Regions from separate parts of the Homo sapiens genome. Here all the other regions are linked to region 2. The links are contacts of gene promoters, found by promoter capture Hi-C in human tissues and cell types (Jung and others, 2019). All regions are on one chromosome and are shown on one strand. The core of a region is centred on a gene start or on the middle of the fragment in contact, and the rest is flanking DNA. Distances in the headings are between cores, read along the strand shown. Region 1 has its middle 46 kb from the start of CACNA1D. Region 2 holds the start of CACNA1D (calcium voltage-gated channel subunit alpha1 D). Region 3 overlaps CACNA1D (calcium voltage-gated channel subunit alpha1 D).

The links. The method cuts DNA at HindIII sites, captures the fragments that hold promoters and counts their contacts. A contact is called where the count stands out against the background at its distance.
Region 1: a fragment that was not itself captured here is called in contact with the fragment with the promoter of CACNA1D in region 2 in 1 of the 25 tissues and cell types used here (hippocampus).
Region 3: a fragment that was not itself captured here is called in contact with the fragment with the promoter of CACNA1D in region 2 in 1 of the 25 tissues and cell types used here (spleen).

The regions. Positions count from the first base shown.
Region 1 is chr3:53,447,501-53,450,200 of GRCh38, reverse strand. No RefSeq gene overlaps it. Among named protein-coding and RNA genes, the nearest start is that of CACNA1D, 46 kb to the left of the region's middle. The HindIII fragment of the contact is 3,106 bases long and covers 1-2,700 here.
Region 2 is chr3:53,493,148-53,495,927 of GRCh38, reverse strand. It overlaps CACNA1D (calcium voltage-gated channel subunit alpha1 D), which reads right to left and starts at 1,317. Exons shown (of 48, transcript NM_001128840.3): 1 at 695-1,317. The coding sequence starts at 761. RefSeq lists enhancers at 1-252, 253-1,038, 1,369-1,868. The HindIII fragment of the contact is 18,707 bases long and covers 1-2,780 here.
Region 3 is chr3:53,526,666-53,529,460 of GRCh38, reverse strand. The region is part of intron 3 of CACNA1D (calcium voltage-gated channel subunit alpha1 D); the gene reads right to left. Among named protein-coding and RNA genes, the nearest start is that of CACNA1D, 33 kb to the right of the region's middle. RefSeq lists an enhancer at 2,432-2,795. The HindIII fragment of the contact is 4,025 bases long and covers 1-2,795 here.

The sequences.
Region 1 (2,700 bases), core at 50-2,549, 46 kb after region 2:
GGTGGGGCAGGGAGGAGAGAAAGAACACAAAGAATAAGAGCAAGGAAAACAGATAAGGACACATACCCTCATTTAACTTTTGCTCATCATCCTAACTCTTGCTTTGCCCAAAGGCTAGATGTACCCTCCTAGAAGCTATACAGTTTCTGTCCCTGTGAATCGAGTAAATGAATGCAGGCTAAGCACAAAGGTTCACGGTGATGCTTATCTCCTGAGCCATGACATTTCCCAACATCCATTTTATGTAGTGAAGGGGTTAGGTACAAAAACTGACATCTTCACTAAGGAAATCATTTTTCCCTAAATAAAATGCTTTCAGTATCAATAACTAATATTAGAGCACAGGCCATGTGCATGCTCTAAAATGTCTTACATACTGAGGAATTTTCTATGAAATGAACACACTGGTTTTATGTGGAGTGAACACTTACGCACTTTTCCAAACTTGGTCAAGAGTAGTTCTTTTTTTAAAAGCTTGGCAGACTATTGGGAAAAGCTGTTCTTTTAAAGTACATTCAAAGATTATTTTGGAAAGCTGGAAAGCGAAGGCTTATAAGTTTACCAAACAGTCTGAAGGAAAGGTAATTGGTTTCCTTGAAAAGGAGTATGACTGCTTTATTCCCTTTCATGCCTATCCATAGGAGAAAAGGGTACCTCAGAAAGGAAACCAATGCTTTCTTTTAAACTAATTTATAAACCATAATTTGGTATGATTTGGTACTTCTGGTTTATACAACACTCACTTTGTGTACCTTTTAGGAATCTTTTTAAATGGTTGAAAATAAATTAAATGGCACCCTAATTTAGTTGTGCCTTTAAAAAGCTTTCTTACAATAAAAGTAATATGTACTTATCTTGTTTTATCATTTAATATATTTAATAGATTGTGAACACTTTCTCATGTCATTAAACAGTCAAAAAGTACCTTTTTTAACTTTTAAAAAATACCTTTAAAAATATCTTTTAATGTCTATATTAGGCCGGGCGCAGTGGCTCACGCCTGTAATCCCAGCACTTTGGGAGGCCGAGGCAGGCGGATCACGAGGTCAGGAGATCAAGACCATCCTGGCTAACAGGGTGAAACCCCGTCTCTACTAATAATACAAAAAATTAGCCGGGCGTGGTGGTGGGCACCTGTAGTCTCAGCTACTCGGGAGGCTGAGGCAGGAGAATGGTGTGAACCCGGGAAGTGGAGCTTGCAGTGAGCCGAGATTATGCCACTGCACTCCAGCCTGGGGGACAGAGCGAGACTCCGTCGCAAAAAAAAAAAAAAAAAGTCTATATTAATATATCAATGAGTATATCATATTTTATTTTGCCATGGCTTCACTAATTTAGACCATATGTCTAGTAACAATGAACACAATTGCACATTTATTAGCCCAAGTTTCTGGTTATTCCTTAAGACATAGTCATAGAGCGGCAATTACAGGGCCAAAAGGTATGAACTATCAGAATCATTGACTGTAGATGGTACCTCTCACCTCGTCCTCCTCCAATCCTATTTAACACTTGAGTTGTCTAGAAGCCTTTTCCTAATGTTCCCCATTAGTACAGAATTAAGCTTCCTCTGATAAGACTTTCCATTTGTCATCAATATTGTTACACTTTAAGCTTATCCCCAAAGAGAGGTTACACATCTGGATGAATTTTTTTTTTTTTTTTTTTTGGATTTTCAGTATCAACATGGCATTCTTTTCCTCTCAAAACTCTCTCCAAGATGAGGAAGAAAACAAAGAGAAACTCCATATAAAGTCAGAAAATGGATAGAGAAAGGATAAATGACTTAACAGAACAGAGAAAGGTTAAACCTGAGCACACACAAAAGAAGATATCAGTGAAAGAAAAGCTAATTCATCCTCAAGAATTCTAGAAGAATCAGCCAGGCATGGTGGGACATGCCTGTAATCCCAGATACTTGAGAGGCTGAGGCAGGAGGATAGATTCAGCCCAGGAATATGAGGCTGTGGTGAGCTATGATCACACCACTGCACTCCAGCCTGGACAACAGAGCAAAACCCTGTCTCTCCAAAAAACAACAAAAAAAAATCTGGAAGAATCAAACCAAGAAATGTAAGTACCAGACGGATGCCAGTGGCAGCAGGTAAGTCCCCCAGGATCCGAACCCCTGGCATATTCAACTGACTCCCCTTCTCACAGGAGACAGAAATTGAATCAGAAAAGACCAAATCAGAGGACAATAAGCCTAGGGACTAGAGAGTTGTTGAGGAAAAGAACTGAAAACTGGGAGATAAGGGAAAATCTGCAGACTGAATATGAGAACCTCAGTCCTTTCCACTGCATAGCTATAAGATGATGGCAGTTGGCTTCTTAGACACCTCAAGTGGGAGATTGCATGAATGGGCTGTAATATGGATGTAATGTGGATGAATAGACTGGAGAATATTCTGTAAGTTTCTTTCTTGGAGAAACTGAATGGCAGATGGGCAAAGACCTAAAGATGCTGATATTTGGGGATCTCAAACAAAAAAAGCCAACCATCCACCAATCCAGTTGTCCTGTTGTTAAGCCTATCAGAGAACAAGTCCTGCACATACACATTCATTCATTTAAAATATATTTATGGACCGGGCATGGTGGCTCACACCTGTAATCCCAGCACTTTGGCAGGCCAAGGCAGGCAGATCACGTGAAGTCAGGAGTACAAGACCAGCTTAGCCAACGTGGCAAAACCCCGTC
Region 2 (2,780 bases), core at 68-2,567:
CTCCCTCGACCCAGCCCCGGCCGGCGTGGAAGCTGCACGTGGTGCCCGGGCCAGAGCTGGGGAGGGGAGCCCCACAGCGGCAGCGGCTCCCCGGGCATTGCTAGGTTACCGACGTGTGCACAGCCGGCGACGGGAGCGGGAACGCACGCTCCACCCGAACCCCTTTCCCCGATACCGAGGCCGGGCCTCCCCCGCGAGGGGATGGGTGTGCTTCACCCACCGGCGCGGAGGGCGAAACCGGGCAATCCTAGAATTTTCCGGATGCCACCAGGGACCTTCTTCCTAGTCAACGAGGGGGCGGGGGAGGAGTGGAAGGCGAGAAGAGGCTGGCAAGGGGGCTCCGGCTGAAGACTTGCGGCCCTCCTGCCATCGCTCGGGGGCGTTGAAGGAAAGTTGAGCCCGAGGACACTGAACCCGAATCACCCCGACTCGCCGCCCCTCCGGCTGCACCGCGCTCCACACACTCCACGGCCGCCCCCACCCCACAAATGCAGAATTAACTCTGACATTCAGGGCCTGGAGGGGAGCGCGGAGTGGCTGTCACGCATGTCCCCTCTCTGTGTAGACGACACCGAGCTGGCAGCACCCTCTCCAACCCCCTCAACCCATCCAGCGCCGCGGGGAAGGGGGAGGGGGCTGGAGGACCATGACAGGATCGGATTTGGCAGCGGGTGCCCGGGCTCTGGCTGCTCACCGTTCGCGTGGTCCGCTTGCTGCTGCCGTTGATGCTGCATTTTTTTCATCATCATCATCATCATCATCCACGAACATTTATTGAGCGACTACTGTGTGCAGGGCACTGTGCTGGGCGTTGAGGCGGGGGCGGAATGGGGAAGGGGATCACCAAGAGGTAGGAGCCGCGGTCCCTGCCCTTATTCTCGCTTCAGCAGGGGGGTGGGGAGGGACGGGGACAAATAACAGAAAATAAGGATAATTGATTTAAAAAAAAAACCGCTCGCCACCCAAGCTCTCTCTTTTTCAAAAATGGAGCAAAATAAACTTTTTAAAAAAATAAAATCCAATGTATATATTATCTTAATAATATATACATGTAATTTTTTGCTGCAAAGGAGAACTGGCTTGTCCCCTCCTCTAGCGGAGAGACGCCGCGGTGATGCCGGCCCGGCCGCCGGGGCCGCTCGGCGCTCCCCCCATGCCCGCCCGTCTGCCCGCCCGCCGCGGTGCCCGGTGCCCGCCGCCGCCGCCCGCGCCGCCGCTGGCTCGGGACCGCGGGCAGCCGGAGCTCACATCCGGGGACGGAGGCGCTCGCCCGCCCGCTCGCTCCGCGCCCGCCGCGCCGCGCCGCACGCCGGCTTCGCCCTGGCGACGCTGCGCGCCCGCCGCCGTCCCCCGCCCTCCGCCCGCCCCGAGCCGCCCACGGCCCGCGCCGCGCCGCGCCCCGGCGGGTCTGCAGCCCGGCGCGCGGTTCTGCCCGGCACCACTTGCGCGCTCGGGGTGGCCGTCGCGTGGGACTCGGGGTGCCGCCACCCCAGCCTGGCCCGGCTGACCTGCGGGCTCCAAAGGGTTAAGCGCGCTCCAGCGGCGGGCTGCCCGGTTAACCCCCTCCGCGCCGCACGGTGCGCTCTCCCCCCGGGACCCGGAGGAGGCAGGCGGCGCCAGTGTCTCCCGCGGCGCTGGGGTGCGGATGAACCGCTCCTCCCCGCGCATTTCTGGGCTGGGGGACAGCTCGGGCTCCCGCGCCGGCCCCGACTCCGCGCCGGCCTCCTCTGCGCACACCTGGAGGAGGCCCCGCCCCCTGGGAGCTCAGGTGCTAGCGGGCGGTAGCTGCTGCGGTCTCCGAGCTCATCCTCGTCAAGGCTCGGCCGGGCTCCCTGGCTGCTCCGGAGCGGGGCAGGCGCCCCCTGCTTTTCTCCGGCCCTTTCTGGAATCGGGGGGGTTGGGGTAGCCCGGGTCTGTAGAGAGCACTCACTACCCCAGGTAACTGCCTGCAGCTGGAACCGCGAATCCAGGGCGCCCCCCATCTTCTCCCCTGCCCTGCGCCTGGCCTGGCGTCGCGGAAGGCAACGGGGATGGGGGGCAATATCTCCCCCCACCCCACCCCGCCCCCACGTGTGTTTGGAGGCAGGTACAGGGAAGTCAAAGCCAAGGTCTTTCAAACCGCTCGTGTTGTTCAAGGAAATAGACGGTGCTGCTGAAACTGTTGCCTCCAGTCTGGGAGCTGAAGGGAGTAGTTTATTTTTTGATACCTTCGCTGGCTTGGATTTAGGGTGGGGGAGATTTGCAAACGGCAGCTCCTGTCTAAAGGGGAAAATACTTTATCTAGTGGATGACTGATATTTTTCATTTAGCTTTGTGCTGCCTGTTAGGAGAAGGGCGTCTGCTTTGTTACTTCACAGGATTCGATTTATTTGCTTTTGTTCCTATCTGCATGTTCCTACGGCGTTTTAGAACGTTTCAGAACAGTGACTTTAAAGCGAAAATAAAGTAAAAGCTCAGCGTGAATTAAGAAAAATAAGTGTTTATGGGAAGGTGCTCCTTACCCAAAGAGAACACACTAGTCATCCTCAATTGTTGGGGGGCACCTGGGCAGAGAGACTGGGGACCAGACAGAAGACTCTCCAGAGGCCTTCCTGAGGGGGTGTCTGGTCCGTGAGGATGAAAACAACCAGGCTCTTGTCCTTTTTTGTGCTTTGTTTTTGGAGACTGGAGAGGCGAGAAATCGCCCTACGGTCTAGTAACAATATAAAGCTGGCCTGGGCCACCTCTCCTATGGCTGCTTCTGATCCAAAATCTGAAGGGAATAGAAGACGGTTCCCTCC
Region 3 (2,795 bases), core at 220-2,719, 33 kb before region 2:
GTACAGACCCAATATCCCTCAAGAACATACATGTAAAAAGCCTATGCTAAAATACTAGAAAATCAAATCCCTCAATATATAAAAAGGATAATATATCAGGACCAAGTGAGGTGCGTCCTGGGAATGCAAAATTGGTTTAACATGCAAAATTCAATGGAATTTACCACAATAAAATAAAGGAGAAAAACCATATGATTATCTCAATACATGTAGAAAAGACATTTGACAAAATTCAACATCCTTTCATAATAAAAACTCTCAGGAAAATAGAAACAGAAGGAAACTTCCTCAACCAATAAAGGACACCTATGCAGAACCTCCAACTAACACTGTACTCAGTGATGAAAGAATAAACACTTTCTGAGTTCAAGAAGAAGGCAAGAATGTCTACACTCTTACCATTTCTATTCTATACCATATGGAAGGTCTTAGCCAATGTTACAAGGCAAGAAAAATACATACATACATATATACATAAATAAGTATTAGAATGGAAGAAACAAAACTATCTTTATTCACAAAATAATTGTGTTCATAGAAAATTCTAAAGAATCTTCAAAAACTACTGGAAGTAATAAGTAAATGTGACAAGGCGGCATGTACAAGGCAACATATACAAAAATCAAGCATGTTTCCATATACTAGTAATAAACAACTAGAAGATTCTTTTTAAAATTCTATGTGCAATAAAATCAAAAATAATATAAAAATTAGGGATAAATAAAATACATGTAAGACCTCTATACTAATAACATTGCTGAGAAAAATTAGAGAAGATCTAAAGAGATACATCACACTCAGTGATTAGAAGACTCAATGTTCTTAAGCTATCCTTCTCCCCAAATTGACCTATAGATTCGACGTCATCTCAATCAAAACCCCAGAAGGCTGTTTTATAGAAATTGACAAGTTAATTCTAAAATTTAGATAGAAATGCAAAGGACCTAGAATAGCCAATACAATCTTGTAGTGAGGGGTGGAGAACAAAAATGGAAGAACTTATATAATCCAATGTTTAGACTTAAAACAAAGCATCAGTAATAATAACAGTACAGAGATAGCATAAAGACAAATGTGTCAATGGAACAGAACAGAGACCCTAGAAACAGAACCAAATTTATGTGATCCATTGATTTTCAATAAAGGTACCAAAGCAATTAAATGAGGACAGGAAAGCATTTTCAACATATGTTGCTGGAGCAACTGGATACCCACAAGGGAGGTGGCTGGAATTAACCTCTTAACCCCAACCTCATACCATAGAAAAGAAATTAATTTGAAATGGACCACAGACCTAAATGCAAAAGCTAACATCATATAAAGCTTCTACAAGAAAAAAGGTAAGAAAACATGTTTGCAATCTTTCTTAGGACCCAGGTAATATTAACCATAAAAGAAAAATCAAAATTTGACTTCAATATTAAAAGTAATAAACTAGATTTCTCTCCAACATTCTATAACTCAAACTCAAGTCTTTCCTTTTAATTGGTATGACTTAGTATTATCTAGCTGGGTATATTTCAGAATGATTCCAGAAGTTCTAATGAGAGCCTACACTCATGGACAGATCATGTACAATGCTTTTGACTAATCTGGTCTACATTTTCAAATGTCTTGAAATAGAATGCTATCCAAAAGACCTATAAAAATACTAATAATACTCTAACAATAGTCTATTGGCTACTGGGCACACTCCATTTATCTCAAATAATTAATGCCATAATTATCATCCAGTACTGTAAATACTACCAGCGCACAAAGCTTTATGGAGGGGCATGGATAGGAAGAAATGGGCCACATGTTAACAGACCAAGAACTGAGGGTCTAGCTGTCATACACAGCAGCCCAACCTCCCTGAGAAGTCTTTACCTTTTCCAAGATCAACGACTTAAACCTCAGCTAGGTAAGCTTTTTAGGTTCTAATTGGAATGCTACTGACCATAACTTTGAAATGTTGTAAACTTGACTTAATGCTATTTCATGCAACACAAACTAAGGTCATTTCCTTTAATAGCAGGAAAGGTTTGAGAATACAATCCTAATAAATCAAGCCAATGAACAAAGGGAAAAGGTGATCTTATTTTTCACTATATGAACTCAAGGCTTCTTATTTTGATGAACTACCCAATACAGTTCTCCAGTCAAAGCCATCAGAAAGGCAAATCCACACTGGAGTAGAAGAATGCTCCAACAGACATGGGATATCTGAGAAGATTCTGGCAATAGGCCTTGCCCTGCAACCTTCCAGCCACTATGCCCTTGGGTAAGTCATTTGATCTCTCTAAGCCCTAAGTTTTCTGATCTATAAAACAGGAATTGTGATACCTGCTTTGTTTCATCATAGATTGTTCTAGGATTGAATGAGAGAATGGACACGAAAGTACTTGGTGAATTATGAAGTACTATACATTCTGTGAGGGCTATAATGTTTGAGAGCTTTCTAACACGTTACCCTCAATGAAGATGCAGTTCTCAAAATCCAAGTGTGGGTGGGCAGTGGAGGAAAGATTTTCCTAGATTTATAGAATGTGAACATTAAAACTTTAAAGAGCTTATCTGGCAATACGCCCTGCTCATTTGACAAATTAGGAGATAATAACAATAGCTGCTTCTTATGCACGATGTACTATGTTCCAGGTGCCATGCCTTACTCAAATCACTTCATTTATTTCTCATAGCAACTCTGAGGGGATACTATTTTACAGATGAGGAATCCAGGCTTGGTGACAAAGTGAAGATGTACAACCGGGGGGAGAAAAGTTGGTACAATTCTCCACTCTTCTATACAAAACCTC